Linked DNA regions of Homo sapiens: regions 1, 2, 3, 4, 5 and 7 are each linked to region 6. Evidence: promoter capture Hi-C in 16 types of primary human blood cells and fetal thymus (Javierre and others, 2016). All regions are on one chromosome and are shown on one strand. The core of a region is centred on a gene start or on the middle of the fragment in contact, and the rest is flanking DNA. Distances in the headings are between cores, read along the strand shown.

Evidence for each region. The method cuts DNA at HindIII sites, captures the fragments that hold promoters and counts their contacts. A CHiCAGO score of 5 or more calls a contact.
Region 1: a contact is called between a fragment that was not itself captured here and the fragment with the promoter of RPS3A in region 6, in 4 of 17 cell types (naive CD4 T cells, monocytes, fetal thymus and 1 more). The highest score is 10.2, in naive CD4 T cells.
Region 2: a fragment that was not itself captured here is called in contact with the fragment with the promoter of RPS3A in region 6 in 1 of 17 cell types (monocytes); the score reaches 5.7 in monocytes.
Region 3: a contact is called between a fragment that was not itself captured here and the fragment with the promoter of RPS3A in region 6, in 1 of 17 cell types (non-activated CD4 T cells). The highest score is 5.6, in non-activated CD4 T cells.
Region 4: a contact is called between a fragment that was not itself captured here and the fragment with the promoter of RPS3A in region 6, in 1 of 17 cell types (non-activated CD4 T cells). The highest score is 7.0, in non-activated CD4 T cells.
Region 5: a fragment that was not itself captured here is called in contact with the fragment with the promoter of RPS3A in region 6 in 2 of 17 cell types (total CD4 T cells and naive CD8 T cells); the score reaches 6.3 in total CD4 T cells.
Region 7: a fragment that was not itself captured here is called in contact with the fragment with the promoter of RPS3A in region 6 in 1 of 17 cell types (total CD8 T cells); the score reaches 5.7 in total CD8 T cells.

Annotation. Positions count from the first base shown.
Region 1 is chr4:152,638,548-152,641,803 of GRCh38, forward strand. TMEM154 (transmembrane protein 154) reads right to left here. Exons shown (of 7, transcript NM_152680.3): 6 at 2,381-2,438. Among named protein-coding and RNA genes, the nearest start is that of TMEM154, 40 kb to the right of the region's middle. The HindIII fragment of the contact is 1,336 bases long and covers 755-2,090 here.
Region 2 is chr4:152,848,153-152,851,747 of GRCh38, forward strand. The region is part of intron 2 of ARFIP1 (ARF interacting protein 1); the gene reads left to right. Among named protein-coding and RNA genes, the nearest start is that of ARFIP1, 70 kb to the left of the region's middle. RefSeq lists enhancers at 2,265-2,559, 2,446-3,104. The HindIII fragment of the contact is 1,666 bases long and covers 1,367-3,032 here.
Region 3 is chr4:152,769,980-152,773,391 of GRCh38, forward strand. TIGD4 (tigger transposable element derived 4) reads right to left here. Exons shown (of 2, transcript NM_145720.4): 2 at 1-1,563. The coding sequence starts at 1,025. Among named protein-coding and RNA genes, the nearest start is that of TIGD4, 8.0 kb to the right of the region's middle. The HindIII fragment of the contact is 1,083 bases long and covers 1,014-2,096 here.
Region 4 is chr4:152,684,235-152,687,650 of GRCh38, forward strand. No RefSeq gene overlaps it. Among named protein-coding and RNA genes, the nearest start is that of TMEM154, 5.9 kb to the left of the region's middle. The HindIII fragment of the contact is 1,919 bases long and covers 354-2,272 here.
Region 5 is chr4:152,792,303-152,795,725 of GRCh38, forward strand. All of the region lies in intron 1 of ARFIP1 (ARF interacting protein 1), which reads left to right. Among named protein-coding and RNA genes, the nearest start is that of ARFIP1, 14 kb to the left of the region's middle. The HindIII fragment of the contact is 5,339 bases long and covers 1-3,423 here.
Region 6 is chr4:151,097,977-151,101,314 of GRCh38, forward strand. RPS3A (ribosomal protein S3A) reads left to right here and starts at 1,652. Exons shown (of 6, transcript NM_001006.5): 1 at 1,652-1,738; 2 at 2,509-2,612; 3 at 2,999-3,186. The coding sequence starts at 1,677. RefSeq lists enhancers at 562-631, 909-2,108, 1,407-1,991, 1,412-1,971, 1,992-2,575. The HindIII fragment of the contact is 1,842 bases long and covers 299-2,140 here.
Region 7 is chr4:152,559,763-152,562,999 of GRCh38, forward strand. No RefSeq gene overlaps it. Among named protein-coding and RNA genes, the nearest start is that of MIR4453, 25 kb to the left of the region's middle. The HindIII fragment of the contact is 633 bases long and covers 1,437-2,069 here.

The DNA of each region.
Region 1 (3,256 bases), core at 173-2,672, 1.5 Mb after region 6:
TTAGTATAAAGGCAGTGAGTTTCTGTACATCAGTCCTAACTTCCTAATAATTATACTAGCAATAACCAGTGCTTATTGAGAACTTACTTTGTTCTGGGCTTTGTTCTAAATCCAATGTACTTTTCTTAGATTTTTTAATGAATAAAAAATTAACTTTGCAATATCATAATAACCTTTGAAGTAATCAGAAAGTGCCTAGTGGTACAAAGATCTGGGACTTGCCATTCTTGGTTCTCGAATGCTGGTGCTGGCATTACGAGAGGGCATAAAGTGAAGGCCTGACAGCCATCCTGTGAATGCCACACAGCTCTGGACCCACAGTGGAATGTAGACCTTCCCTTTTAAAACAATCATTTAACTATGTGAAGGCTCTAGCTCATTTTCTCATTATTTCAAAAATCTGACTTTTTTTTTTTGAAACAGAATTTCTTTCACTCTTGTTGCCTAGGCTGGAGTGCAATGGTGTGATCAGTGCTCACTGCAATCTCCGCCTTCCCAGTTGAAGGGATTCTCCTGCTTCAGCCTCCCAAGTAGCTGGGATTACAGGTGCCCGCCACAACGCCTGGCTAATTTTTGTATTTTTAGTAGAGATGGAGTTTTACCATGTGGGCCAGGCTGGTCTCGAACTCCTGGCCTCAGGTGATCTGCCTGCCTCAGCCTCCCAAAGTGTTGGAATTACAGGCATGAGCCACATTGCCTGGCCAAAAATCTGATTTTTAAGAAGATTTCACTGCCATACAATTCTGTAATGTTAAGCTTCTTCCATGTTGCCAACAATTTCAAAGAGCAAAAGGCAGGAATGTAAAAACCACTGAGGGTAGTTTTTAGCATCATTGAGGTTGCTCATCAGTGATAGAGTAATAAGATACTTAAGATATTTATGGAGTTTTAGTAGTGATCTGAGCCCTATACCAGACATATATAGTTACATATTTCCAGGTAAGATCAAAACATGGGGAAAATATTCCTTTGTAATATTCCCCCTGGCATTGTTGTTTTCTTCCACCTGCTTGTTAATCAATCTCTCTCTCTCTCTCTCTCCCCCTCTCTCTCCCTCTCTCTCTCCCCATTTCTTTTAGAGACAGGGTCTTGCTCTTGCTTGTTGCCCAGGCTGGAATGCAGTGGTACAATCATAGCTCACTACAATCCTGAAATCCTGGGCTCAAGCAATCCTCTCACATCAGCCTCTCAAGTAACTAGGACTACAGGCAAGCGCCACCAAGCATGACCTGGAATCTCTTTTAAATAGGATAGAATCCTTCCTGAACTGGCAATAATCTTAACATGAAAATGCCTAGGGTGGTGATATTGACCTAAATCTACAATAGGTATAGACTTTGGCATCAGAGCTGAGGTTTGTCTGAGTAAGACTGTGGTGGTGTGATGTGAGGAGAGATTTGGGATGGTGAATTCTTAAGTGAGGTTTAGGGGGGAGACGCAGGAAAAGGGTCCGAAGATAAACATCTGACTGCCCCCAACCATTGCCTAATAATCAGTATTCCCTCGCGATGCTCAGGCTTCAGGGGTTGCCTGGTGACAAGTGACTGACTGGCACCAGACTTCTGGTGAACATGGAGGGAGAGGATTTATCCTGCCTGAAGGTTTATTCCATTTATTCCAACAGAAGTGTGATATCTCAGGCATAGGCTCAAGTTTTCTTCTCTCCGGGTGTCCATGAGTGTTTGCTGCCAACAACTCAGTACCTCCAAGGTCACAGCAGAGCTCTGCAGAGCCAGTCCCCAACCTTCTGAACCATCCAACCTTTTTCCTTAGAACACTTCCCATGTCCTGACAAAACAGTTCTCTAATCAAAACACCCCAAATGTGGTCATTTCTATCCTCACAAAAGATAATATAATTTAAAATGAGATTGTGGAATGCTAAACTATACACCCAAACCCCAAAGCACTAAAATTTTTCTATCAACCAGAGCCACCTAGTGGTAAAATGGAACATTTTTTAAAAATTCCCATTTATTTTCTCACTCTAGTTTACAGTTACCCACTTTAAGACTGTCGCCTCCATCTGTTTTCCTTACCAAACATCTATTTATCCAAGGTAAACAAACCTACAGTTTGTCATAATTGGAAAGCTTTATGACTAAAACAGAAGCTGAAGCAACAGTGTCTCTTTAGAAGGGCAAGAAAATGTCAATACTCATTTATTTCTAAAGATAAAGAGTCCTAGGATATTTACTTTGTGGCCTTCTATTTTCTGTAACACACTTCCTCTTCTCCACACTATGCACATATCCAGCCGCGTAAATGATCTCATACGAATTATAGGCACGGAGGAGGTAAGCAAAAAGTGTTCCACCCTGGTTCCCAATCCCCCCGCCCCCCGCCATATACATGTAATCTGTGGTAGAAATGAGAAGTACCTTGGGTTGTGATTTGATTCCTTCTCTTCCTTCAAGGTAGGTAAACATTCAAAGTCGGCTAGGACAGAATAAAAGCAAACTCATTGTTAGTTACTGAAATCGTATTTTCTATCCACAAACCTGATACAGTTAAATACCATAGTTCTCTGATCTGCGTGGTTACTTGCACAAAAATGGCCTCACCAAGGAGTGATAGTGATGAAAAGATTAATGATGTCAAGGCTCTTGAAATGGAAAAAGCACTAATAACACAGATGCAAAACTTCAACATGCCTCTGACACTGGAAAGGACACAATTCATCACTGCTTGGTTATTCTGTCCCTGCAGCACCCCAGTGCTCCAAAAGCTAGAATCTGCATGTCTCAGGATAGACAGTGGAATAAGATGGCTTCGCCTGAGGTTCCAACGTGTCTGCAGAATGATTTCCATCAGATTGCACGGTAGGAAAGAATTGGGTAAAGTGGGAAAACAGCTGATCTTCCTATGGTCATGAGTTCTTTTCTATTACACCACTCGTTATTTTTAAGGGCAAAAAAATTCTTTGATTCTATCACCTATGTGTCAAAATAACTCAGCTTTAGTTGTCAAATAGAAATGCCTTTTCCAGTTTTCTGGTTTTAGTGAGTATGACAGAATCATGATTTTATATTTCACAAAATCTCTGGCACAAAACGTAATACAACAACATAGCAAGAAGAGATTGCCTTTCTGTGGTGAATTTTTTTCTTCTACCTTTTTTTTTTTTTTTTTTGCATTTTCCAAATTCTACTATGTATGCATATTACTTTTAGCAACTGAAAAACAACAAAACGAGACTCCTGAAGGACTATCTCAATGACCCGCCCCATCCTCAAATAGAATGGCTTTACAGAGTC
Region 2 (3,595 bases), core at 950-3,449, 1.8 Mb after region 6:
AGTTGTTATGGAATTACCCAGTATTAATTAAATAGCTGTACCAAAAGCTTATGTGATTTGACTATAACTGCAGTGAGTGCAAGAGCGCTCTCTTTCATTACCTTATTTCCAGGGTTTGGTAACAGTTTTTGGCACTTACTACCAAAGAGGGCCTTTCAATAAATGGTGAATAAATGAATGTTTATTCACGTAAGAACGAGGACGAGGACTAGAAACCAGATTTTTAGACTTCTCTGAAAAACCAGGGAAGAGATATTGTAATCTTATATTTGATACATCTTGTGTCCTTAATTTCCCTGCATGTGGTATTTGGGTTTGTGAGTGTGAGTCTTTGTTGTTATAGTTTTATTTTTAATGATTTTGTTGAGCTAAGTCGTTTCTTCATTCCCTTGTACTTAGCAGTCTGCAATATCATACACTACGATCTGCAGAAGATTTGGGAAAGAAATACAAGAAATTGTTGGAACACTGTTCCTCCAACTCCTACCCCCACCAGTCACATGTTGTAACTTATTTATCTCCTTTTCCCAAGAGATTGGAATCACTGTTAGGTCAGAGATAGTGTGTATACACAGCACAAGTTTTGGTTCATAGTAGTTGCTCAATAAAAGAATGAATTCTAGTAAATAGACTTAAAAGTTGACATCTTTTCTCCTTCAGCCATCCTACCCTAGGGTTTTCATAGCATGTGATTACAGTTTGTCTCCATTCTATATAGGAATGCAATATAATGTTTCCACGTTACTCACACATAAAAAATGTAGTAGCTCGGTCAATGGCAATAATGATTTGATGGGGGCTTTTTCAGAGAGCCAGTTTTGACCAAATATGTATGTTGATCCCTTTTAGAGGTATGGCAAATGGTTTTCAAGGATTGTTTAACCCATACAAATCTAGATTCATTTTAATACTGTTTGCTTTTCAGCTATAGGCTATACTTTTAATACTATTACTACAAATTAAAATTTTAAGTATATTTTTAATATACACATACATTAAATTAATTCTGGATTGAGAGTCCTGTTGAAAATACAATTCATAATGAAAGGTTGAAGGCTTATCTGTCTTAATTATAATCTGAGAGTGTGCCCTTATTTATAAACAAAAGCTATTAGTAATATGTTTTTTTTTATTTCTTGGAGGAATTTTGTTGAAAATACAATTCATAATGAAAGGTTGAAGGCTTATCTGTCTTAAATTATAATCTGAGAGTGTGTCGTTATTTATAAACAAAAGCTATTAGGAATATGTCGTTTTTAAATTTTTTGAAGGAATTATTTTGAATGTAGATACATATAAATATTTCCACAGTGATAGTATGTGAATGAATTCAGTATTTCTTTGATGCAAGTTGGTACATGATTCAAGCTTTTGAACTACTTAGAATCTAGACTAAGTGGGTGAGGCCAAGAGGGTAGGCAGTGAACCACCAAAAGGTACTTGTAAGTTCTTGTTAAATATTGTTGAATGAATGGGAGAGAGGGAGAAAAGAAGATTGAAATTGTGTGTCTGTGGCAGGCAGGTGTGTGTGTGTATGGTGGTAAATGGAAAAAAATCAATAAAAATGTTAGATTTACTCTCTTGATTAGATGGAATAAGATACAGGAGGATATTGTGATCATAAAGTGAGTTATTAAACTTATTTAAAGTGAGAATCTAGAAGTGTTGCTTCCGAAGTGATGACAAGGTCTAAGAGTGGCAATTTGAGTTTAGGTTGCCTGAGTGGAATATGGGGTATGAAAGATGAAAGGCATTAGAAATGAAGATGTTAATGAAATCTGAGACTAAGGTGTAGATTGGGTTATACTAAGTCTAAAATGTCTTTTATCTGCCCTGACACTTTTTTGGCATGTTGTCCAACTACAGATTCCCAAACCTGATCCAGATTACCAATTTTACGCATTTCTGCAAGTATACGGAGGGAAAATAAAATCACATACCTTTACATATCATTATTACTATCCCCTGTCATTCTGCATCAGCATAGGTAGGCAGGCTCATGGAACAGATTTTAAGTGTTTTACAATTTATATTTTAAAATATAGCAACTTACTACCTACCATAACATTAGTGGACTGTATTTTTAATGATCGGTGAAAACTTTCAGCCTAGACAGCGAATATATCAGCTTGGAAGGAATTGCTAACTGAACATCTATAATCATTTCCTGAAAATGTGCCCACCAACATGCAAAAGGTTAGAAACACCCAGTTTAATGGTGAGAGTTAGGGATAAAGCAGAAGCCCTAGATGTGCCAAAGTCTTCAATAAATATTTGAAATTGACTGGAAAGAAGGTAGATGACAATGTTGAGGTGGGGACGAGGGCAGTGAGGAAGGTGACACACAGGAAACGGGGGGGTTGGGTAGGGGCAGAGTTGCACAAGAATGGAAAGCAGTTCTCTACAACAGTTCCTCAAAATAGACTAAGGATCGCCTGCATCAGAATCACCTGATTTCCTTGTTTTGAAATTCGGATTTCTGGGCTTCACATTCCAACTCAGTGAGAATCACCACACAGCTAAGAGCAATCTGCATTTTTAACAGGATCCTCAGGTGATTCCTACTGAAATTAAGGTTTGAGAACTGGTTGTTTAGAAGTACCAATAGAGAGTTTAGAAAATGCTGACCCTGCCTTCTAACAATAGAATATTGATAAGTAGAATGTTGGAAGATAATCAGTTTTATAAAACTCAAGATAATTGTGGAGAAGCAGAGAGGCCACTTAAGGGGGGTTAATAGTGTTACAGAACTGGGGATGTGGAGGCTGTTGTAATAATAGCTTTGCTTCTGGCAGATACTTTTTATAGACAGCTAACTGTTAAACTAACAAAGGAGATTTTAAATTAACAGAATTCATCAAACATTTAACATAAGTGTTTTAGTTTGTTTCTTTAAAAAATTTATTATGTAGATGCTTTGGAAGGTTTTGTCCCTTTTGAAGCATGAGATGTTACTGAGAAAATTTCTTGCCAAATGAAGTAATAGACACTCTGCTAGATGTCAAGAATACAAGTGGTGAACAAGATAGATAAGCTTCCTGATCTTAGCATATGGTCTTCGGAATGGGAAGAGAGGATATAGACAAATTAATTTTAATACCATGTGAAAAATGTTGTGCTAGGCCAAGTATAGCATGGTCTGAGTACTGGTGGGAGCATGGAAAGATTACCTGAGTGATTACTATATAAGCTGAGGTCTGAAGGATGACCTAGCCAGATAAAGGGTGAAAAATATTCTCATCAGAAGCAACTGTAACAACCCGAAGGAAGTGTGAGACCATAGAACTGGAAATTCATGTTGTTGGAATGGAGAATGTGAGGGCAGGTGTGTGAGAAATGAGGCTAGAGAGATAAGTAGATAGTAGATCCTGCAAAACCTTGAAAACCATATTGAAGAGTTTAGTCTTTACCTAAAAGGCAATGGAGAGCCACTAAATGCTATAAAAATGGGAGTGTCTCAGTTGGGTTCACATTTTAGAAAACTGTCTCTGTCTAGTTTGAAGAATTGATTGCGGGACTGACAGTACTAGAGACATGGGAAACAAGTTCAGTCATCAAGGGCAAAAGAGGAGTGAGACTTAGGACATTCTCAAGG
Region 3 (3,412 bases), core at 305-2,804, 1.7 Mb after region 6:
ACAGAGCTTAAAAATTTCTTGATAAGACAGTGTCGATATTTGATTTTAAGGCTTTTAATAACACCTTGTTTCATAGCTATACATTTGGAAGATAAACATGATGGAAAGAATGCTAACTCAATGGATTTTAGGTTCTTTACCTCTGGATGTGCTGGAAAAGACTCAACAAAAATCACCACTCTTCGTTGCTGGGCTTGAAATTCCTCATCAAGCTTTCGCATCCATTGTTCAAATACATCGGAGGTCATCCATGCCATTCTGTTAGCTTCATAACACACAGGCAATGATTTTAAACCTTTGAAACAATGTGGAGTTCTCTTTTTTCCAATGACAAGCAAAGGAAGTTTCTCTGAGCCATCCATGTTTGTGCCAACCACCAGAGTTATTCTGTCTTTGCATAACTTTCCAACTGAACATGTTTCGCCTTTAAATGCAAATGTATTGGTAGGTAACATTCGATAAAGCAGCCCAGTCTCTTTTATATTAAAAACATTTTTAGGATGATAATCATTTAAATAATAAGGAAGTACATTTTGGTACCAGACAGTCGAAGGGTCTACTGGTACACCTGTAGCTTCTACAGGTTGAGCTCTGAATACTAAACCATACCTGGATTTAAAACGATCCAGCCAACCATTACTGCACTTAAAATCATTATGGCCCAGTTTCTGGGCAAAATCATTAGCTTTTAGACGTAACATCGGACCATTAACTGGTACATTTAGACACTGAGCAATTCGATACCATCTCATTAATGCCTCTTCCAGATCTGTGTAAAAAGCAGTTCTCAGTCTTTTTCTCTTTGGATCAAATCTTAGAGATTCAAAGGCTTCTAGAACTTTGTCTTTATTCTTCATAATAGAAGACAATGAATTTTTCTTTATTCCATATTCAGCAGCAATCTCTGCTTTTTTCTTGCCACTTTCCACTGCATTTATGATGTCGATCTTTTCCTCAATGGATAGGCTTTTCTTTTTCTTCACTGTTACAGGCAGAGTTGAGGCATCCACAGAAGCTTCTGCCATCTCAGCCAGTGCTTATGTAGAGATTACTCTTCTTAACTTCCTGGTGACTGTTTCTTTAATTAAATTTGTTTTCCAGTATAATATAGATTGCTGCTTTCTATCCTACTTTATACACTAAAAGTTGGTGTCTAATAGTCTTATTTTGTAGGAACTTGATGACAAAATATGCTTTTTCAAAGATCTGAAGAAAAATATTATATGCAACTAGAATATTTTAGAAGAGAAACTTCCTTCCTAGTACCTTGTATAGCTCAGTTTATAGCTTATTCAGAGTTGTAGAAGTCAAGCTAAAATAGAAATCTCATTATATAAAACCTGTCCAGTCCTGCTGATGTATTTTTGGAACTTCAATCCTTTAAGATGATCCATTTTATCCATGCACACATTCAACCTCCTATTAATTCTCCATAGAAGGCCTCAGAGATAAGAAAAAACGTTCAAAAGTTTTCATGCAACTATTACCCATTAATTTTCAAGTTTGTTCATGGTAAAGAAGAAAATGGTAGAATCCTTCTAGAACTTGCCAGTATATCTTCTTCTGTTGTTTGAAAAATTAAAAAAAAAGCAATTTTAGCGATATGTCAATTGAATATTAAAATAATGCTTATACCCAATTATTATGTTCTTAATAATGAAAATAATAGAAGCATGGTTCTGAAAATACAATAAAGTTTCCAAGAGAAATGCTTACCTCCCAAAGGCCTCTCTGTAAAAGCTCTCTAGTTCTGTTCTACAGATTTGAATTCTCACTTGCCTTTGAATGCTTTATAATATATAGTTCTGAAATAAATCAGATAAATTTAATCTATTTTGAAAATGTGGGCTTACCAAAATTAAAGAACTAAAAATGATGCTGGATAGATGCTTGGTGGCTATTTTTCACATGAGGTCACAGACTGCACCCTCTAACTTCTCCAAAAGAAAACATACTCAGACAGTAGTCACAAGGTTCAACTTTTAATAGCATATGGGAGACAGTGTCTCTTTTATAGGAGTCTGACAGAAAATGCTTCCCTAAAAAATCAAGTGACAATTCTATTTAAAAAAAATCTAAATCCCATTCGACCTAAAAGCTTAAAAACCCAATACCTTTTTATTTTTATGATTTAAAATTTTTCTCTCTTTTTTCTTTTTTAACCCTTATCCTGTTAGTAGGCTAAGAACTCAGTAACTTTTGTATTAATTTGACACATTAGCTGAAGGTACAGAGGCCAGAAATACTGGACAAAAGGCATAGAAACAAACAATTAGGAGAGTATAATGCAGAAAAAGATGTAGACTAAGAACAGGAAGGATAGTGACCACAAGTCTTAACGTCTCAGGTCTTCTACTTTCTATCTGTAAAAAAAAAAAGGTGCCAGGCAGTTCTGAATTGAGAAGTGACTCTGCTATTTAGTACTCATGTGATCCCAGGTAATTTACTTAACCATATGAAGCTTCAGCTTCCTTATCTGTAAAATGGGAGTAACTACAGCACCTATCTCATTATTGTGCATTCAAAAAGATTCAATGAAAGAGTGTAAAGCACGTAGCACAGTATTTAGTACTTTAAGAAAGTGCTCAACAAATAGGTGGTGATGATCTCATCATCATTATCTCTCTCATGTCTTTTGGCTGTGTGAATCTACAATTTGGAAAACTATAAAATCCTACTTGCAAACAGAAGCAAGAATCCCACCTTAAATCTATACTCAAAGTAGGGCTTTTCTTTTTTTTTTTTCTTTTGAGATGGAGTCTCACTCTGTCGCCCAGGCTGGTATACAGTGGCACAATCTCGGCTCACTGCAACCTCTGCCTCCCAGGTTCATGCGATTCTCCTGCCTCAGCCTCCCAAGTAGCTGGGACTACAGGCACACGCCACCACGTCCAGCTAATTTTTGTATTTTTAGTAGAGACGGGATTTCAACATGTTGGCCAGGATGGTCTCAATCTCTTGACCTCATGATCTGCCCGCCTCGGCTGCCTCCAGCCTCCCAAAGTGCTAGGATTACAGGCGTGAGCCACTGTGCCCGGCCTAAAGTAGGGCTTTTCTTAAGCCATGAGAACAGTCACATGGCCCCAGATAGGCTCACCTCTACTTTCCCAAGTCAGCACCTCCCTTATCAGAATCTGTGGGGCAGCCAAGATAATAACAAGCTAATTTGATGAGCAGTGTTACTTCTGTGTGAGTGTGGGCACTCCATTCTTCTTGCTGGGCTTCCTGGTTTCCCAGGTGATGCACAACTTTTTGCACAAAATCTTTTGACAAAACTTTTGCCAAAATTCTTCTGCCCTTGTTGTCCAACTCAAAGGAGGAATTTTTATCATAGGAATTACAACCAGTAAAGGAATTCTTTTTTTAAAAAAGTGTCATTTCGAAAAAAGTCTTAAAAATAATGATAGCCCAG
Region 4 (3,416 bases), core at 63-2,562, 1.6 Mb after region 6:
AGTGAGTAAATGGGGGGAAAATCCCTTTACAGCAGTATTTTTTTAAGTGCACTGGAGGGGGCCACCTATGTTAGAATTATTCAGGGGAGCTTGTTAAAATTCAGAGTCCTGGACCCTATGCCAGAACTATTGAGTCAGAATCCCTAGAGCTGAGGTCCATAACTCTGTATTTGTAATGTTTGAGGGGATTTTTATGCATGATAGATAAAACTCGAGAATCATGTGTTAGTTAGTTCCTGGAAATTATTGCTAGTTCCTAGAAAGGTCCCTTTTCTCCAAAGGTAAGAAATAAAAAGCACGTTGTATTTTCCTGTTTTGCCTTGACTGCCAGGAGGCCTGGAACTAAAAGTTGAAGCTTGGTTGTGTAACTTTTATTAGCCCAGGTGTCTTTACCATTTCTAGGAATATTTCTTTTCCTGGCTAACTGTAACTCATCTGTCTAGCCCTAATTTAGAAGACATCTCCACCAGGGAGCTATCTTAGAAGCCTTCCTCCTCCCCCTAACCCAAGCTGAACAAAATGCTCATCCTTTACTGCCACCCACATAACACCCATCAGAATACAACCAGAAGACCTGGCTGTGTCTCTGTCTCCCCGCCTTGATTACCCTCGTCTCACTCATCTGTGGTCTCCTGCATCTGTTAAAAGGAACTAGACTTCTTCTTCTATTGCTGTTTTGTTTTTGATCAAATCATATCTTAAGGCCTTTTCCACCCAAGTCTCTCCAAATATTTTGCAAGTAGGACATACCTCATTAATAAATATATAGTATTTATACCAAAGTCCACTCCAGAATGATACATGCAGATTGATGGCCTCAATGATTCTTCTTTTGCTTTTCTGTTGAATTTGACTTTCCCGATTCACAGTTGATAGTGCCCTTGCGAACTAAATCTTCAACACCAATGGAACTAGAAAAAACAAAGGAACAAAAGATTTGGAGGATGTAGCAAATTATAAAAGAAAGCCTGGGCAATACAGTGAGATCCCGTCTCTACAAAAAATAAAAAAATTAGCCGTGCATGGTGGCACCTACCTGTAGTCCCAGCTACTCAAGAGGCTGAGGCAGGAGGATCACTGGAGCCTGGGAGTTCAAGGCTGCTGTGAGCTATAATTGCGTCATTGCACTCCAGCCTGGGCAACTGAGGGAGCCCCTATCTCAAAAAATAATAAAATAAAATAAAATAAAATAATTAGGAAAGATGCTAGGGTATATCCAGTGCCAGGGTATATATGTGGGTAGTGCCAGAAATAAGCAAAATTTGAGAGGATATTGTATCAGGTGAGAGAAGGTAACAGGTGACTAGTTTTCAATTTAAATAACTTATTTTTCATATTACAGAGACAATACATGTTTGTTGTGGAAAAACTAAAAATACATAAAAAGCAGAATCAAAATTATTCTGTTTTTAAGTTCTTCCAGATCTTTTTCTATACATATTAACTAGCAGTGTTATTCCACTTTGTTTCCTGTACTAGCAGTTGGTATGACAATCCTGCTAACTGGCCGGAGGTATAGAATTCCCAGGTAACAAATTCAGATATGGGAAAATGGTAACTTGCTCTAGTTTTCTATTACAGCATCAACTTTGAATTCCAATTCTTCTGCTAGTGGTAAACCAAATGCAGTCACTTACTAATATGATCAGTTTAGTGATTTCCCAGGTATTTGGGAGTAACTTCAGTTATTTCTGGGTCCCTCCCTTGCTCCACCCTTTACCCCCACTTCCGTTTTTTTCTAGAATTGCCTCCAGAATGCCAAAGAGTTGATAGGGAAAGTTGTCTCTAAAATACAACATTGGTTCTTCAGTCCTTAGAGGACCAAGAGCTAAGAATTAACTCCTTATGTTTATATTTTAGAATGGCCTCCTTTTTGTAGATCAAATGGTCTAATTTCCTAGTTTGGATGGGTTCAGGTAGGTGTATAAACAGAGAGTGTCCAGGACTCCCAAATGCATATTATGTTTATAGAATTTCATTTACTATCCTGCCACTTATATTCATGATAATTTCAGTAACAATGCAATGCACTCTCTCCAGGGAAGGATGGATGTGATGAGACATGGTGGGTCCGCTGGATTGAGCACCAGAAGCCCAAGGTCCCAGTCTTAGTTCTTTCACTAATGAGATTCTCTTGCCTCCATTTGCCTTATATGTAAAACAGTAGGGCTGAGTAGATGATCTCTAAGACCCGGCACTCACATTCCATGAGTCTATCAGATTCCTGGTGGGGAGGCGCATACAAAGATTTTCAGAGGCAAAGGTAGACCTAAGCTTCTAAAGACATGGACCTGCTACAAACAACCCAGCCAGGTCCTCAAGCCTTTCCATCATCACTGAGATCCAGAAACGAAGGCCTGTATTTACAGCAACATCACAGTCCTGCCAGGATAAGAATAGAGGGTGGTGCCTTCCAGAACTGCCAAACAGCTGGGCATCACTGAATTGAAATAGACAGCCATAAACAGGGTGGGTTGGAGAAGCATGACAGTTGTGAAATCAGGGCAGGAGGAAGGAAATAAACAGGCAAATACACCGGAAAGAAACATGATGTGGTTGCTTCGCTATCTGTGAAGCAGCAAATGCAAAGCTTATCTGAGGCCAGGAACAAAAGTCGTCATGTCTACAGTGATGATCGTCTCAGCTACGAACACATAACAATAAGCACTGGTGTTGGTAACCATGCTTTAGCACCCAAAGGTCCACAACAACTTTGCTATGCAGCAAGAGGTCACTTGCTTACATATCTCATTGTTACATTCTCTCTTCGTGAAAACTGGCAATCCGTTGGAGTAGACTAGATCATTGTTCCCGGTTCTTCATGCCTTTTCTGAATTACAGTTCTTCATCTATGTCCTTGCAACTTGGTAGTTTATGTCCCTGCCTTTCTGATGCTGGGCCAGGCCATGTATGACTTGCTCTGATCAAAGATATATGGATGGGAGAGACAGTGTGCTGGGTGTGGTCAAAGGTCTCTAAGAGCCATCACAGACTTTGACTTGCCTTCTTGTCTTTCTGTGATCTTGCATTTATATGATCTTCGAAGATGAGCCCCATAATGTGAAGCAGAACACAAAATCAGAAACCCAGACTCCAGCCTAGTATAGCCTATGTCAACCAAACCGCAGCTGCAGACCCATGAGCATGAAACTAAATGGTTATGATTATGAGCTATGGAGGGATATAAGATTGTTCCGTAGCATTAGTGCAGCAATAGCAAATTGATTTATCTCTTAGGATTCTTCATTCAGGAGTTGCAAACCTGAGTGAAGAAAGTCAGATAAGAAAATAAGAACTGCTTTTGGTAAGCAGAGAAAAACTTTGAGAAATTGGCTGTCAGGTTATACTGTAAAGCCTTTGGAAGATAGGACTGTTCACACTTAACTTGTCATGCTCATCTTTTTCCCTTCTCCTGC
Region 5 (3,423 bases), core at 471-2,970, 1.7 Mb after region 6:
TCTTTGAAGACTCATATTTTATCATAAAAATTCAGTAAATTTCTTTGAAGACTTATGTGTGTTGTTTTATTCAAGTGAATTTTGCTTTAGATTCTATATTTAGTGAAAAATAATGTAAATTCATATTCCAGTATGATGTGCCATGTTTATCTTGTCTGCTATGGTTGTATCTGCCCTCCTGTGTCTTGGGCATACCACTTCAGACCACCTGTTATATGAGTACCTGAATTTGAAAAGCTCCCATTATGATTTATGTTCAACAACACTCCTGCCACAGATCCTTTATCATTAGACTTCTGAATCTTTAAACTCAGTGTTGTCATGGAGACTCTGAAGGGGTTTTAGGGATCCTGGCAAATCTAATACCTCCTGCCCTCTCTTTCCTGGGTGCTAAGAAGACCTTAAATGCATTTAAGAGTGGTAGAGTATAAAACTCTCCCTCACTAAAATTTGGGAAATGATCTTACAAGGTTTTCCTCTGTATAGATTTGGTCTATTCAGTATGTATATATAAAAATGTGATTTTTATAGTAAAATCAAAGCAGCTACAAAGAGTTGGATGGATTTTAAACTTGAGGTGACAAATTCTAATTAATAATTCACTTTGTAGGTCTTTGGTTCTTACACTCTTTTGTTAGCAAATACCTCTGGCTGATTTACAGTAGAACCCCCAGAGATGACTTAATGACATTTTGGCCTCCAATATAACTGGTTTGTGAGGGCTGAACATCAGTGGTGGTTTTGTAATAGTAATTTATCACTCTGTTTTAAAGACAGCTTTCAAAGATAACTGAATTCATACAAAAATTAGAAAATGTATAACCTAAACAGCATAAATTATATAGGTCATTAACTTCTTAAGTCTTGTTACTCCCATGTATTTTGTTATCAAAGTTATAAACAAGAAGACCTTTAAGAAATAAATATGAAGTGGATCAGAGCACTTAAAGAATGAGCCGAGATAGCACCATCGTACTCCAGCCTGGGCAACAAGAGCGAAACTCCGTCTCAAAAAAAAAAAAATGATATATATATATATAATATATATATAATATTTAGTACCTATCTCTGTAATTCTCAGAAATTTGATTTATGTTTCTCTATCTGCCTTGAGTTATTTGGTCTTTTCCAGAGCTGAATGATAATGATGTACAGTGGTCTTCCCATAGTCTTGGGGGAGATGTTCCAAGACCCACATACCTGAAACTGTGGATAGTCCCAAACTCCATATGTACTAAGTTTTCTCCTATACATACATACCTATGATAAAGTTTAATTTGTAAATTAGACACAATAAGAGATTAACAACAGTAATAATAAAATAGAACAATTATAACAACATATTTTCTTAGTCTGTTTGAGTTGCTATAAAGGAATATCTGAGGCGGAGTAATTTATAAAGAAGAGAGGTTTATTTTCAGACCATGGTTGACAGCTGATAAACTGTGGGAAGCTAAAACATGGATAAGGTGGGGGACCTACTATATTTTCCTCATTGGTGCTGTTTTATACAGGCGGTCAAATGATAACTCCTATTTCACAAGAAAGTAAGACAGCAAAAACGAACTGCCTGAACCTTCCATTTTTCCATGTTACTCTTCACTATCTCTACAGGTTCCTTCTTCCTTTATTCTGGCCTCACTGGAAGAGATTTTCTTCTTTTATTTAAAGGGTAATTCCTCTACCTTTGTTCAGAATTTCTTACTGTTTTTAAAAAACTTTTCATCTAATTTTAGACTTGCGGAAGAGCTGCAAAAATAGTAGAGTTCCCTTACATTCCTCACCCCATTTCCCCTAATGCTAACATCTTACATAACCATAATATAATTATTACAAGTAGGAAATGAACATTGATATAATATTATTGATTAAACTATAGCTCTTATTAGAATGAAACCAAATTTTCAACTACTGTCTGTTTTCAGTCCCAGGGTCCTATATAGGAACTCACATTGAATTTAGCAATTTCTCCGTAGTCTCTTTTAAAGTTTCTAACATTTTGCTTGTCTTTTATGACTATGACACTTTTGAAGAATACTAATCAGTTATTTTTAGAATATCTCGCAGTTTAGGTTTGTCTGATGTTTTCTCATGATTGGACTGAGCCTATGCATTTTTGGCAAGAATACCACAAAAATGATGTTGTGTCTTTCTTAGTGCATTGTATTGAGGGGTTTATGATATATGTCTTACTACTTATGATTACTTGATCACTTGGTTGAGTGTGTTGTTTTTACACTGTGAAGTTACTATCTTTCCCTTTTTAGTTGGTAAGTATCTTGTTGGAGCTACGTGGAGACTGTGTAAATCCTGTTTCTCCTCAAACTATTGCTCTCTAATTTTAGCATCTCTCAAGTGGATCTTGTCTGCAGTATTTGTGATATTTGCCTGATGTTGATTGTTTCCCACTTTGCTTCCTATGTTAATTTACTTATCGTCTATTGTGAAGAAGAGTTGTCGCTTTTCCTCCATTTACTTATCAGATTGTTTATATCAATATGGACTCATTAATATTTTACTCCTTGTTTTTGATCTAGTACTATCATTTATTTTGTTGCTGTATTCGTTCCAGCATTGGCTGTTATGGGCTCCTTCAGGTTGGCTCCTGTGTTCTTTCAACAAACCCCCATCTGTTTTTGAAGTTTTCTTTATTTTCTGACACCATGTCAGCATGTGGAAATTACTATGGTTCTGAGAGTCAGAATTATTACAAAATATATCGTGTATCCAGAGAAGTGTCACTCCATCCTTAGCCTTGCTACTCTGTTCCCAAGCCCTTTCACTCTTCTTTCCACCCCTTTCTCACCTGCCCAGGGTAGGTAACCTATCTCTTTAGTTTCTGGTTTATCCTTCCGGTGTTTTTGTTTGTTTGTTTGTTTGTTTGTTTGTTTTTGCTTTTTCAGTAGAAATGTGTATTTTCTTATATCCCCCTTCATTCTTACATGAACATAACATACCATAGGGATTTTTTTGCTTTTTTCAGACTTTGCTTTTTTCAGTTAACACTGTGTCCTGGAAATCACTTCATATTATAGAGATTTTCCTCATTCTTTATTTCCCCCCACAGTTGCATAACTTGGATGTACCATAGTTTATTCAGTCACTTTCCTATGTGCCATATTCCTACCATAGAAAGGTAATTGAATATGGCACATCCAAGTTTCCAATATTTTACAATTACAAAGAATGCTAGAGTGTGTATTTGTCTTTGTATATTTGGAGGTATATTCCCAGGGTGGATTCCTTGAAGTGGAATTGCTGGGGCCAAAGTTAAGTGTATATGTCATTTTGTTACACATTACCAACACTCTCTCTAGAATGGTTGTACCAATTTGTATTCCCATCAGCAATGCATGTAAGTGCCTGTTTCCCTTACATCCTCACTAATGGAATGTTTTGTCATATTTTAAAATTTTTGCGAGT
Region 6 (3,338 bases), core at 402-2,901:
ACTCCTAGCCTCAAGTGATCCTCCTGCCTCTGCCTTCCGAATACCTGGAACTAGCGGCCTGAGACACCTGGCAGGGCTACCTTAACCTTTTTTAAGTGTAGAGTTCAGTAGTGTTAAGTACATTCATACTATTATGAAACTAAGACTTTGAATTTATCCTCCAGGCAACTGAGATTTATGGAATTACTGAAAGATTTCAGGACCCTACTAGAGGTTTAGGAAGGTTGTCTTGGGGGGTGGGTGTAGTGGGAGGTAGGGGATGGAGGCTAGCAGGACTGGAAGGGATTGTAAGTTTAAAAGCTTGCAGGGGGCCTTGTAAGTAAGGGTTGGTTTTGGCTTGGTCACAGGGTTTTCTGCCAGAGGGGAAGTTAGAGAAGGGAACTCAACACACCACTGGCTGAGTACCAAGCCTGTATGGGCCAGATGCTTTCCGAGGGCTGCACACTTGAGCTAGCCAGCCACACCTTGCCAGGATGTGCTCTGTTAACCCCTACAGTTAAAAAAAATGGGGGAGGCGGGTTTGGATTAGTTGCAAAAATGGAAACATTTGGAGATCTCACTTTTTTTTTTTTGACGCAGTTTCACTCTTGTTGGCCAGGCAATGGCGCGATCTCGGCTCACTGCAACTTCCGCCTCCTGAGCTCAGATTCTCGTGCCTCAGCCTCCCGAGTAGCTGGGATTACAGGCACCCACCCGGCTAATTTTTTGTATGTTTAGTAGAGACGGGGTTTCACTATGTTGGCCAGGCTGGTCTCGAACTCCTGAGCTCAGGCGATCCGCCCGCCTCAGCCTCCCAAAGTGCTGGGATTACAGGCGTGAGCCACCGCGCCCGGCCAACGCCCTGCTAATTTTATCATTTTCTTGTAAAGACGGGGTCTGGCTGTGTGGCCCAGGCTAGTCTCCAATTCCTGGCTTCAGTTGATTCCCCTGCCTCAGCCTCTTAAAGTGCTGGGATTACAGGTGTGAGCCAACGAGTTCGGTCTCACTCTATTTTAAAAAAACCTTTTAATCAATATATAACAGACATATAGAAAAGGACACAAATAAGCGTAGAGCTTAGTGAATGTTCACAAAGCAACAACACCTGAGATGAACCAGCATCCACATCAACAAGCAGAACGTCGCTAGCATCTCTGGAGTGATGCTCATTTAGCCCTATGAAACCTCATGAAGCCGACCGTTTTATCACCCCCATATTACGCATGAGGAAACAAGCGTGGAGAGGTCGGTCTCAAGCAAAGCCCTGTTGAAACCGGCATTTGAATCAGATCCGCTGACTGACTCCAAAGCCAATGCTCTCAAAAAGCAGGTTTGGGGGTTAGACGGTGAGTTCAGCTTTGAACGATGTTGAGTGGGCGTCTCGTTTTACAGAAACTTACTTCCCGACGTCACAGCCACAGAAACCACAGGTAACCAGACGCCTGCACGTCAGGCCACCGACGCCTTGGTCTACACAGCGCAGCCTCCAGTGAGCCCGCGGCATGCCGCGCGGCCTCCCCACACACGATGGCGATGTCGCAACCACAGTAGAAAGAGTGGCGCTCTCTACTGTCCCGGAATTCTTGAGGCCGGAAGAATAACAGGGCAAAGGTCACGTAGACGGCGCGCCCCGCCCCCGTACGCCTAAGTTCTCGCGCGACTCCCACTTCCGCCCTTTTGGCTCTCTGACCAGCACCATGGCGGTTGGCAAGAACAAGCGCCTTACGAAAGGCGGCAAAAAGGGAGCCAAGAAGAAAGTGTAAGTCGCGACTGTCGTGGCGTCTTGCTTTTTGGGGGTCTGCTGGAATCGGCGGGCTGGTCCTAGATCGCGGCGTAGGCCGGATGGCGAGGATTCCAGTCGGATTGTGCGGGCCGTGGCGGGTTGGTGCACCCAGGAACGCGGCCTGGAGGGTCGGTGTTGAGTAGCGGCAGGTCGGCTGCCTTTCCCAGGCCTTCTGGTCCTTGCGCGCGTCGCGTTTGAGCCGGCTTGCCGGCGCGACTCGGCTGGAATGTTAGTTTTGTGGGCTCACGAGCTGCCTCAATTCTGCGAGTGTTTGATGGCACTGCGACAGCAGGAGTTGAGGAAAGCACCCTTCTATCCATTCAGGACCCGTCAATCTCGCCTTTGCTTGGTCCCGCTGGAATCTGCGAGCTCCTGCTAAGCTTTGGGGCCATGCAGTCTCTTAGTTACCAGTACATGCCATTACGTGCCAGCAAAGTTAATGAGATTGCATGTTACTCGTGCCTGTGTAGTGGAAGGACCGATGCATGTTATTCTAAGTGCCTGTGTAGTGGATGGACCGATGAGGGTGGGAAGTGGACATAACCTTTCAAAGTCTGATGCATGCAGTGAAACGTACAGTGGGAAGAGCTAGATTTATGTTTGTTCCCCTCACCTCACTGTGAGATATACTTTGGTATCAAATTGCCGGTTAGCTTTTTAAAATATTAATGGGAAATACCATTAACAGTGAAAAATACAGTAAGAATTGATCTGCAATGGAACTTAAGCATCTTCTTAAAATCCAGGGTTGATCCATTTTCTAAGAAAGATTGGTATGATGTGAAAGCACCTGCTATGTTCAATATAAGAAATATTGGAAAGACGCTCGTCACCAGGACCCAAGGAACCAGTAAGTAGCTTATTCTTGGTTTGTATTTTCCTTAAGTTGGCGCTTGTATATTGTAGCAGGCATCTTGGTCTGTTGTTGGTCCTGTGGTGGGAGACTTTAAGGAAATGTCAGCTCTTGGTTGCAGCCTTGGCACCTGTGGTGATCATTTTTAGTACAGCACTTGGAGAGAAGCAAGATGGTGCTTTTTGAATTAAGAAAATGTGCCATGGGTAGTTCTGAGCTTCAAATAAGTACTGTTGATAAGTCACTGGTGTCTGGATAGATTTGATAACAAAGGTTAAGGTCTTTATAATTTACCATTAACTTAATTTCTACCCTCAGTTTACAGGCTTGACTTTGCTTATATGGTTCCTAAATGTTAAGATACTTGTTTTTTTCTTTTGTAGAAATTGCATCTGATGGTCTCAAGGGTCGTGTGTTTGAAGTGAGTCTTGCTGATTTGCAGAATGATGAAGTTGCATTTAGAAAATTCAAGCTGATTACTGAAGATGTTCAGGGTAAAAACTGCCTGACTAACTTCCATGGCATGGATCTTACCCGTGACAAAATGTGTTCCATGGTCAAAAAATGGCAGGTGAGACCCAAAGTTCCTTAGAGTGGTTGTGCTATGGGTGTTTGACCAAGGATAGCATGGTTTGATGACTGGAAGGAGCAAGTTCATTTTATTTATTTATTGAGACCAGTGAAATGTCCACAAAGTTCATTTTAAATTTTTGTTTTCTTGCC
Region 7 (3,237 bases), core at 503-3,002, 1.5 Mb after region 6:
AATCAGAGATTTAATTATTTAATTCATCTCTTCGAGCATCATGATATCATCCTATGTAGTCTATTTTCTAATCTGGCTAAAACCGGTTTGGTTCTCATGACTCTGTAATACACGGGTAGTACAGAAAACCTCAGTGCTTAAAGGGGAAACAAAACTAAAATAACTTACTGGTCTGCTGTATATTTTCATGTTCTTAGAACTATTGTTTCTAATATTATATGTACAATTAGACTGCTTTGTTTGGTAATATATTCAATTTTTAACATTATCTAGTCTTATCAGGAGATAAACACAGCAGAATTCAAATGGCTTAAGTACTCTCTGTGTAAAAGGATAAATTCTTGCTCCTTAAATTACGGTAAACTATGCCCCACATTCACTGAAAACTTAAAACTGCCATTAACTATCATGGAGATCCATCAATTTAGTTCCATCTTAAGAGTGAACAATAATGAACAAGGATAAGAAGCATGAAACATGAAATGTTTTTAAATGAAACAAAACTGATTAGAACCTAGGACTAGATTCCTCCATTTGTTAATCCAATGAAACCTACCATATATAAGAGTATCTTGCCTATCTTGGGGGGAAAAACCAGCCAAAGACTTGGAGGATGCCTTATGTATTTTTTCATCAAGATTATTGGTGATTCATAAATTGTCTTTTGAAAGTTTAATTATAATTTTAGATTTTATTGCTGACAATAGGCAGAAATGAATTGATGTATGTTAGTTATTTGCTAGGAAGGAAGATCTAATTATTCTTTAGGTTAAAGAACAAAAACAAAACAACAACACAGCTAGAGACCACCTTTTTGGGGGCAGTTGCCTTTCTCTTCCTTCATCAAGTTTTGTAGTCAAGAATTAGAATAGGGCCAGGTGCCGTGACTCAGTGTCGAATCCCAACGCTTTGGGAGTCTGAGGCAGGAGGGTCACTTGAGGCCAGGAGTTCAAGACCAGCCTGGGCAACATAGCAAGGCCCTGTCTCCACAAAAGAATAAATAAATAAATAAATAAAATTAGCTGGGCATGGTGGCATGCAGCTGTGCTCCCAGCTACTTGGGAGGCTGAGGTGGGAGGATGGTTTGAGCCCAGGAGTTCAAGGCTGCAGGGAGTCATGATTATACCACTATAGTCCAGCCTGGGTGACAGAGCAAGGCACTGTCTCTTAAAAAAAAAAAAAAATTAGAAGAGGATCTGCATTGTAAACTAAATCAGGAGGGCTCATTCCTGTTACATGAAGGAGCTGGTACTGGTTAGTCTGGAAAATGGTAAATCAGTTATGGGATTATGGGTAACATTGATCTCCTCATAGATGATGATGTAAGCAAGTGATTTCCTCAGGGAATGAAGAGAAGAGCTTCAGCATACCGGGAACAGTGCTTGTTGCCTTGGAAAATTCATTGTTGCTGGACACTGAATATTGAACAATTTCAAAGCTTAGATCAAGAACAGTAATCTTGTTTGTCTTGTCTACTCAGCACCCATCACCATGTATGGCACATAGTAGGTGTTTAATAGAGATGACGAAGTGTTTAAAGTCTATAATCATGAAGATATGTGGAGGAAACAACAGCATATAACTGAGTGAAAGAAGCCAGTTTGCAATAGATACATATGATTCTAACTACATACATTCTGGAAAAGGCAAAACTACAGAGATCAATGATTGCCAGGGGCTCACAGGGAGGGAAAGAAGGATAAATCGATGGAGAGCAGGGCAGGGGATTTTTAGGGCAATGAAACAATTCTGTATAATCTGTAATATTAGATACATGTCATTATATATATGTCAAAATCCATAAAATGTACAATACCAAAATTGAACCCTAATGAGGTTCAAATTTGAGTCCTAAACTATGGACTTTAGTTAATAATAATGTATCAATATTGGCTCATCAGTTATAAATAACATATGTACCGCACGAATGCAAGATATTAATAATGAGGGCAGCTGTGGTAGGGGAAGAAGGTATATGGGAACTCCCCGTACTTTCCTGTTCATTTTTCTGTAAACCTAAAACTGTTCTAAAAAGTAAAGTCTATTAATTTTTTTTAAAAAGTCTATGAAGCTTTATTGTGTCCCTGACTTTTTTTATTTTTTTTCTGAGATGTAGTCTCGCTCTGTCGTCCAGGCTGGAGTGCAGTGGTGTGATTTCGGCTCACTGCAAGCTCCGCCTCCTGGGTTCACGCCATTCTCCTGCCTCAGCCTCCCGAGTAGCTGGGACTACAGCCAACTGCCCCCAAAAAGGTGGTCTCTAGTTATGTTGTGTTTTGTTTTTGTTTTTTAACCTAAAGAATAATGAGATCTTCCTTCCTAGCAAATAACCACGCCTGGCTAATTTTTTTTTTGTATTTTTAATAGAGACGGGGTTTCACCATGTTAGCCAGGATGGTCTCGAGCTCCTGACCTCAAGATCTGCCCACCTTGGCCTCCCAAAGTGCTGGGATTACAGGCGTGAGCCACCGCGCCTGGCCTTGTGCCCCTGACTTTCATTCTAGGATGATATAAAAGGAGCTATCAGAAACTGGGTGAACAAATGAATGTAATATCCAAGGTAATATTCATTAGCATCTATTTTGTTTTTTGTTGTGTTTTGTTTTGAGATGGAATCTCGCTCTGTCACCCAGGCTGGAGTGCAGTCTTGTGATCTTGGCTCACTGCAACCTCCGCCTCTTGGGTTCAAGCGATTCTCCTGCCTCAGCCTCCCGAGTAGCTGGGATTACAGGCGCGTGCCACGCCAGCTAATTTTTTGTGTTTTTAGTAGAAACGGGATTTCACCATATTATCCAGGATGGTCTCGATCTCCTGACCTCGTGATCTGCCCGCCTCGGCTTCCCAAAGTGCTGGGATTACAGGCGTGAGCCACCACGCCTGGCCCTCGTTAGCATCTATTTTCTTTTGAGTAAGTAACTATTGAGTGCCAACTACAGGACTGCTAGTCAATGTGTGGTATAGAAAGAAAATAAACTGCTCCTTATCTGAGAACTTCTAATTGTTCTCAGATTTATTTATTTGTTTTCTCAAACAAATAAAAGAGCTGTTTTATTCTCTTGACCACAAGATTCTTCAAGATGGAAAATATTTACTGCCAAAGAAGAAATAAACACTTTAGGGAGTATGACTAGTATGAATTTAAGTAAAAGTGATTGGGTCAAAAACAAAGGCTCAAGATTAAATGTAAGAAGACAGGGAAAGCATCTCAATAAAACTGAAGGTGCATATAAATGAATATCA